Linked DNA regions of Homo sapiens: region 1 is linked to region 2. Evidence: promoter capture Hi-C in 16 types of primary human blood cells and fetal thymus (Javierre and others, 2016). All regions are on one chromosome and are shown on one strand. The core of a region is centred on a gene start or on the middle of the fragment in contact, and the rest is flanking DNA. Distances in the headings are between cores, read along the strand shown. Region 1 holds the start of AGO1 (argonaute RISC component 1). Region 2 holds the start of LSM10 (LSM10, U7 small nuclear RNA associated).

Evidence for each region. Contacts are between HindIII fragments. The CHiCAGO score rates a contact against its expected background, and 5 or more counts as called.
Region 1: a contact is called between a fragment that was not itself captured here and the fragment with the promoter of LSM10 in region 2, in 1 of 17 cell types (fetal thymus). The highest score is 8.9, in fetal thymus.

What each region holds. Positions count from the first base shown.
Region 1 is chr1:35,882,245-35,886,473 of GRCh38, reverse strand. It overlaps AGO1 (argonaute RISC component 1), which reads right to left and starts at 3,265. Exons shown (of 19, transcript NM_012199.5): 1 at 3,028-3,265. The coding sequence starts at 3,052. RefSeq lists an enhancer at 53-692 and a silencer at 3,043-3,502. The HindIII fragment of the contact is 3,739 bases long and covers 1,095-4,229 here.
Region 2 is chr1:36,395,673-36,399,947 of GRCh38, reverse strand. It overlaps LSM10 (LSM10, U7 small nuclear RNA associated), which reads left to right and starts at 2,040. Exons shown (of 2, transcript NM_032881.3): 1 at 2,040-2,181. RefSeq lists enhancers at 1,471-2,182, 2,183-2,895. The HindIII fragment of the contact is 5,014 bases long and covers 1,648-4,275 here.

The DNA of each region.
Region 1 (4,229 bases), core at 1,715-4,214, 510 kb after region 2:
TACCACACATAGCCTTAGAGCACCTTCCTCTCCAAAGAGGCTTTGGGAAAACAGGGGAGCCCACACCCCCACTTCATCTCCAAACTAGGAAAGACAGCAGGAAGCAGGAACCTCTCTCCCATTACATCCCCCTGAAAGCCTAACAACAGCACTGTCTCCTCCCCGCCCCCCTTACCCCAGCTTTTAGTCTGAGAAAGGGAGACACTTCCCTACAGACCCAGACAGGGACAGACGGCCACTTTGTGATGCAGATGAGGGCCCCAGCACAGAGGACAAAGCTTGGGCCTAGGGGGAAAGGGGCGGGACCCTTCTCTTCAGACAAAAGCAAGGAGGGAGGGGCCCTGAAAAGGACACTCCCCCTCCCCCATCCCCAAGGAGCCCAGAGAAGGAAAAGTAACAGAGCTGAAAACCCTGGCTCAGGATTCCTTTCTTGCAGTTCTGAGGCCCACACACCTCCCAAGGAGCCAGACTGCCTATTCAAAAGACACAAATTCAAGGTTAGGTTAGGTTAGGTTAGCTGGTGGGCAAGCAAAGACTAACAAGCCAATCTCTCCAAAAAGGATCTGTTCCATGTGAGTATACACTTTATTAAATATCCACATACGTGCTTAACCATTTATGTTCACACTTGAATGTGATTTGATTTAATTAATAAACATGTATTCTGTGCCAGGGCCTATACACTAGGCACTTGCTAGTTCTACAAATAAACCAGACACTGCTTCTACCCTCAGGGAGCACCCAGTCCACTGTATGTGCTTGGAACACACCTGAGCACAGAAGGCAGACCTGGGCATAAGCCCAGTGAGGCTAGCAACAATGCTTTAGTTTTTGGGGGGTTTTTTGTTGTTGTTTTTTACACAACGCTTTAGTTTTGTGTATTATGTCCTCAGGCCACCTTGGGACACCACTCTAACTTCTTATAAGAGAACAGTCCGGGCCTAGGAAGGAGGCAGTTATGGGGTCCCTCAATTTGCAGCTTCCAGACTGAATCTCAATTATACCCTTTACTGAGGCAAAGCCTGTCCTATTCGGCTTTTCCCAAGGCTTTGGCTGACTCCAAACAGCAGGTTCTAGCTCCTTTCCTATAAGCTTATTTTTTGTAACAAATTTTTAAAAAGTCAATTTTTCATCACTCCAGAGCCTATTAGGAATTCATCAGGATAAAAATCATTAGTCTAGAATGGGTACCAGCAACCAGCAATCCATGTGGACCTCAATGACCTACCCCACTACTCTAGTTCATGGGTTGTTGGAAATAGTCCCCAGCCTTGAAAAACAGAAGTTCCTGGGATGGAGAGAGGGTCCTGACAGAGAGGAAGTACTCAAGTCAGTTGCTCCCTGTGCTTATCCTTACGACTACACAGTCTATACAAGGCTGGTTGTTAAGAGGGAAAACAGTCACTAAGTACTTAGAGATCACTAAATGGATAACTTGAGTGAGGTCGTAGGAGCTATTTCCTTGGGAGGGTGGGAGGGAGTTAGGTCTGCTACAAAAAAAACAAAATAATTCCACTAGGAAAGTAATGAAGTTCATGGCCTAAATGGAAATTTGATTCCCATCCCCAGACCAAATGTAAGGAAGTGGTGAGAGATGACCTGAAGGATTCCCAGGTCCAGGCTCCTCGTCCCATCACAGGGTAAGACACTTAAGACACAAGAGGTATCACCACCCCACAGCCCATCCTAAGGACTCCAGTTTTCTTGAGGCAATCCTGCCTCAGTTTATCCTCTGTTCCTATGTCTTTTCCTCCTCATTGCCTGCAAATAAGAAGTTAAGGCTATCACCTAGGCCTCACCAGGATGAAGGCTATAAACTCCCCCATCCTCCAACGTGTTTGTAGGGTTTAGATCTTGGCTCTAAAGACAGCCCTGACAGTTTCTGGGGAGTGGGGAGAGGAAAACGGAAAGATATCCAGTGGAAGATAGGAGCCATGAAAATATTAAGAAATATTAGAATAAATGTTATAAATGTAGAGTGTAACCTTAACAGACAATTCAATGGAAAATCTTTGGATTAAAAGCCCCCATCACTACTCAGTATTGGAGCAGAAACTTGCAAACCAAGCAGACAACTCCTTCCAGGTAGCCCCTGCCCTGTCCTTGATTCCTCCGTAACCAATACCTTTCCTAAGGCCTATCTTCAGGAGGACCCACCCCCAGAACCCATCGCTTCGGTCCCAGTCTTTCCTGTGGCAGAAAAATGCACTTTGGCAGCTTCCCTCAACCCATTCTTAGCAAACTGTGACTGAGGGCCAAGTGTAAGAGCCCCTAAAATGGGGGAGGGGACCATAACCATTTGCACACTGCCAGCATAACCTAAGAGAGAATGCACCCCATCAGCGCGCTCCTTTTTCCAAGCCAAACGGGGCGGGGCGGGGGGGTGTGGAGAGGTGGGGGTATTCGGACAGCCACGCCCCCACCACGTCGGGCAGCCCCTTCCAGCTGCCACCTCCGCGCATGCTCTGGAGCCTCCGCTCCGACTCCCCAGACCCACGGGGGGTAATCCCGGGACTGGGTCCCCACCCACCGCCCCCTGACCCTCGCCCTCGCGTCAGGCCCAGTGGGGCGGAGCTCACAGTCCAGCTCTGGCGCCTTCTCCCAAGAGACATTAGCCTATTCCAGCCCAGCGGAGCCCCCGCCCCCGGCATGCGGTAGCTCCAGGCCCATCTGTGTCGCCCCCTCCTCTCCTGGACACCTGGAGCCCGTCCCCTGCCACCTGCCGGGCCTCTCCGTAGGCCTCCACGGATGTCTGGGAGTCCTTCCGTGCGTGCAGGCCCTTCTCCCAGATTACTTCCAACCCGCAGGACTGTATACAGCCTCCTTGGACAAACAGCCCCCATCTCAGGGCTCTCTTCACATGGTTCTCCCCCGGAACTGCACACAGCCTCCTTCAAACTGGGCCCCCATCGTGGGAGAGCCCTTCTCCTCACTCAGGAGCGCTTCCATCACTTGGAAACCACGCTTTTCATGCGGGATCCCCCAGTCCTTGGAGCATGCACCGTTCCCCCTCCTGGGGACCCTTACCTGCTCCCGAGGGTCCCGCTTCCATCCCATATACCCGTGCGGAGGTCAGGCGGCCCGGAGACTGTGAAGTCCAGCGTGAGGGGCCTAGGTACCCCACACTCTCGCTGCTCGGGATCCCGGGCCGGGCTCGGCTCCCCTACCAAGCCCGGCCGCTCGCGCCGCCGCCCCCGCAGCCTCCGTTGCCGCCGCCGCGGAGCCTGCAGCAGCTCCCACTGCGAGCGCCCGGCCAGCTGCCAGTGCGCAGGCGCGACCGCCGGGCCCAGGGGGCGGACCGGAACGAGTCAAGCGGGGCGCTCCGACGGCAACAAAGGCCAATGGAGAGGGGCGGGGGCACCGGGGACCCAAGGCAGCGGCCCCTGGCGGTCACCCGTCGCCATGCAGCCCGGCGGGAGGGCGCCAGTAGAGGTGCCTTGGAACCGCGCAGTGGTATAAGTGGGGCAGGGCGAAGGGACATCCCGCCACAGCAGCCTTCAGCCCTGTGTCTTTTCCCCAAATAGGTCCCTCCAAACCTACACACAGCCCCCGCCTGTCGCACCGAGCTGCGCGCACACATTATGGGAACCCCACTTCATTCCCAGACCCCCTGGCACTCCAGCGCCCAGGGGCCCTGCCTCCCACCTCTCCTCCCAATCACCCTCATCCTTCAAGCCTTGGCTGCAAAGCGACTGCCTCCACGAAGTCTTTCTCCGTCCCTAGTCACTGAACTCACTGACGCCACCCCCTCTTCCACGCCATGTGCTGGACGCTGAGACCACAGATAAGTAGAGACGCGGCCTACCCTGGAAGATGTCACAGTTTGAACTTAAGTGCAGCTACAGAGCTCTATCCGCCGGACCTGGGAAGCACCTGCCTCCACTTTCTCATCTACAGTTCATGCCTGAACTGTCAATCAGCTTCTGCCCTCATCACGTCACTTAAATGACTTTTGGGGTTGACATCCAAAGGATACTTTTCAATTATTTCTCTGCAGCATCTGTCACTGTGCCTCTACTTCCCTTCTGAGCCTTCTACTTGGCTGCGGCATCTTCTGCAGTCTCCTATTGCCTAAGTCCTTTTCAGTCTTTCTAAAGGGCCCCTTTTGCTTTTGCCTCATTAACTGTTCACTGTGGTTCCAAACCCAGCTCTCTTCTCATTCCACTCTCCCCTTAAAGGTCTCATCCACTCTTACGGCCCAACTATCCTTCCAAATCTCTGTTTCCAAC
Region 2 (4,275 bases), core at 791-3,290:
TTGCACTCCAGCCTGGGCAACAAGAGTGAAACTCCATCTCAAAAACAAAAAAAAATTTAGAGATGGGGTCTCACTATGTTGCCCAGGCTGGTCTCAAACTCCTGAGCTTAAACAGTCCTCTTGCCTTGGCCTCCCAAAGTGTTGGGATTACAGGTGTGAGCCACCACCCCCAGCCAAGAAGCCTAATTTACTGAGCTTCTTCTCTGTGCCAGATGCTTTCACACATTAATGAAGGTCACTTAAATCTTACAGTTCTCTGAGAAAGGCCTAATTTTTTGTTTTCATAACAAGCAAATTGAGGCTGAGGAAGAAAGTAATTTTTCCAAGGCTATACAGAGTGACTTTTAAAAAATGTAAATCAGGTGGGGCACAGTGGCGTGTGCCTGTAGTCCCAGCTATTCTTGAGGCTTGGGTAGGAGGATCACTTGAGCCCAGGTAGTTGAGGCTGCAGTGAGCTATGATCACACCACTGCACTCCAGCCTGGATGACAGGGTGAGAACCTGTCTCTACAAGTAAATCAAATCACTTCGCTCCCTTTCAATAGCCTGTCATAGCACTTCTAGTACTAGATGAGAAGACTGAGGCACAGAGAAGATACTAACTTGCCCAAAGTCACAATTAGCCAGGAGTAGATTTGAACCTAGGCACTGTATCCGGAGGCTGCACTCCTAACCATGAAATCTAAACTCCTTACCTTGGCTCACAAAGCCCTATATGCTCTGGTTCCTGCTTCCTCTCTGGCCTCTTGTTATACCACTCTCCCCAGCTTCCCTGGCCTTTCCTGTGTTCCTAAATTGTCAAGGTCATTTCCCCCAGGTTCTTTGCATGAACTGTGAAAAGAAAAAATTTAACTTTTAATTGGTGATTTGACTTTTTTTTGCCAAATTTGTTAAATCTGACTTTTATTTGCAACTCTAGAATCGGGCAACACTTCATTCTATAAAATGGAATGAGTGTTCAAATGAGCTGAGCAGAGGAGATTGGTTTTACAGCCAGAAAAGGGCTGAGGAAAGCAGAAACAGAAAACAAAAAGATTGGTTGTTTCAAAGTTACTTTCCTTGTAACTTTGAAGGCTAAAGCAGAGGGGACTTCCTTATCCTGCCAGCTAAAACAGGATGGTTTGGAGATCTAGCTATCTCTCACTCTTCTGATTTATCGGAATATCAGATAAACAACTTAGTTTCCACTTGGTGATGTAGAACTTTAGCATGAGTGACTCCATTTTGGTTCTGTTGGGCTTGGTGCAGGAGCCCTGTTCAAACCAATGGCCTCCAATTTTTTTTTTTTTTTGAGACGGAGTCTTGCTCTGTTGCCCAGGCTGGAATGAAGTGTTACTTTCTGAGCTCACTGCAGCCTCCACTTCCTGGATTCAAGCAATTCTCCTGCCTCAGCCTCCCAAGTAGGTGGGACCAGAGGTGTACGCCACCACGGTGGGCTAATTTTTTCTATTTTTTGTAGAGACAGGGTCTCCCCATTGTTGCCCAGACTGGTCTCGAACTCCTGGGCTCCAGTGATCCTTCCGCCTTGTCCTCCAAAGTGCTGGGATTACAGGTGTGGGCCTCTGCACCCGGCCCTGCCTCCTATAAATTTTACTTAACAAACTGTTCCCGCTAATTGCAATGCTCCTCCCATAGTTTTCACAAGCTTGGCTTCATGTCACTAATCTCAACTCAAATGTCACCTTCTCAGGGCACCCCTGACAATCCAATAAAAGACCACCTTGTCACCATCACATCACACCTTTAATCTTCTGAAGAAATTTTTCCCTATTTTTCTTCTTTGTTTTCTTAAGACTCTCTCCCCTGCAGCGCCATCAGCTCAGGGAGCCACTTGATCTTGGTCACTGCTCCATGCCGGAGCCTGGGAAGGAGCCTGGCCCAGGTCGCCGGTTCAATGAATGCGTGCGGAATGAATGAACGACTCTAGTGAAAGAGACTCCAATGACGCAGGCCGGGATTTGCGGAGCACGAGCCCCGCGCCGCGAAGCATTCTGGGGATTGTAGTTTCTCCGTGACGCGGTGACTTGCAGAGCACTGACGCACTCTGCGCCCGGAGGACAGAGCGGCCCGGTCGCCGGCATGGTTTCTCCGTCCTGCTGCAGCCGGCGGGAGGCAGCCAGTCCAGGCGCCCGCTAGCTTCGGCGGCGACCCAGACGGGGAAAGCGGAAGGAATGTCGCGTGGTGGGTCCGGGTCGGCGGTGCAGGGAGCCCCGGGGCGGAATGCGGGGGATGCCAGGACCTCCGGAAGGAGGTGCCGGAGCCCAGGAAGCGTTTTCTTCCCCATTTACCGAGTATAGCTCCTTTCCCCAGACCCGCTCCCGCTGCTCTGAGTAAGCGGTGCTCATCCCGTTTTACCGGTAGCTTAGCTAGCTTGGAGAAGCTAAGTGGTTTGCTAAGTGATCGCCCTCCTAGGAGGTGGCAAAGCCTGTTCTAGAACCCGGGCCTGACTCGAGGTCCGGTGACTGCTCTTTGCAGTCGCAGCAGCAGCCCCATACCTTTGCTTGATCGCAGATTCATCAGGCTGCAGCCGGGTGGCTGGTCGTTAGGCCATGCCCAGGGACCTAGCTCCCAGGCCCCCTCGTCACTGGCCTAGTCTGGCTTGCCACGCTCAGTGCCACAATGCACAGCCCTGGACGGGATGCTGAGTGAGGTCGTAAAGAGAGAGCGTTCCACCCCCTTTAACTCAGGTCTGAAAATAAGGGATAGGTAAGACATAGTGCACTAATACATTATCAGGGCATGTTGAAATCAAAGGAGAGTACCTTTAGTGGAGTGTGATTCTGGTAGCTTTGTTTCTCCTGTAGTTTAATAAATGTGGAAACAGGTTCAGAGACATTAACTTTTCTAGGTTTTCATAATTAGGGGTGGAGTGGGGATTCCAACCTAGGTTTCTCTACCTTCAAAACCTATGTACCTTATATAATACCGGTTGGGGGTTTTTTTCCCCAATTCATTATCCAGATTTATTTTCTTTTTTTTTTTCTGAGAGTCTCGCTGTGTCACCCAGGCTGGTGTGCAGTGGCACAATCTTGGCTCACTGTAACCTCTGCCTCCTGGGTTCAAGCGATTCTCCTGCTTCAGCCTCCCAAGTAGCTGAGATTACAGGTGCGCCCATGCCCAGGTAATTTTTGTATTTTTGGTAGATACTGGGTTTCACCATGTTGGCCAGGCGGGTCTTGAACTCCTGACCTCAGGTGATCCACTCGCCTTGGCCTCCCAAAATCCTGGGATTACAGGCGTGAGCCCTTGCACCCGGCCTCATTACCTTAATTTCTACTTACATAACAGCTGCATGGTGTAGACCAATAGTTCCCAGAGTGTGGGCCCCTGACCAGCAGCATCAGCATCACCTGGGAACATGTTCAAAATGACTTTATCTCTGGGCCTCACCTCAGACCTGAGTCAAACTGGGAGTGGGGCCCAGCAAGCTGAGTTAACAAGCCCCTCAGATGATTCTGATACACACTAATGTTTGAGAACTACTGGTGTCAACCAATGATTCTCAAACCTTAACGTGTATCTAATTCACGTAGGGGGTCATGTTAAAATGCAGTCTGTTTCCAGCCAGCGTGGAAGATGGCAGTGAGCCACTCAGTGAAGGAGTGGATTTTATCTCAGAACAGGCTTGGGGAGAGACCTGAGATTGCGCATTTCTAACCAGTACCCCTCAGCACTTTGGAGTTATCTGGGGAGCTTTCTTTTTTTTTTTTTTTTTTTTTTTTTTGAGATGGAGTCACTCTGCTGCCCAGGCTGGAGTGCAGTGGCACTCCACTTGCAGCTCACTGCAAGCTCTGTCTCCCAGGTTCACGCCATTCTCCTGCCTCAGCCCCCCGAGTAGCTGGGACTACAGGCGCCCGCCACCACGCCTGGCTAATTTTTTTGTATTTTTAGTAGAGATGGGGGTTTCACCATGTTAGCCAGGATGGTCTTGATCTCCTGACCTCATGATCCGCCCGCCTCGGTCTCCCAAAGTGCTGGGATTACAGGCGTGAGCCACCGCGCCCAGCCGGGAGCTTTTACAAAATAGGATACCTGGGCCCACCCCTCTAACCAAACGAATCAGAATCTCTGGGGTGGGGAGGTTGGGTTAAAAACTCACCAGATGATTCTAATGCACACCTGGTGTGAGGTTTGGAGCCAGACGGCTATGGATTTTCTTTTTTTTTTTTTTTGAGACAGAGTCTCTCTGTTACCCAGGCTGGAGTGCAGTGGCGTGATCTTGGCTCACTGCAGCCTCCACCTCCCGGATTCAAGCGATTCTCCTGCCTCAACCTC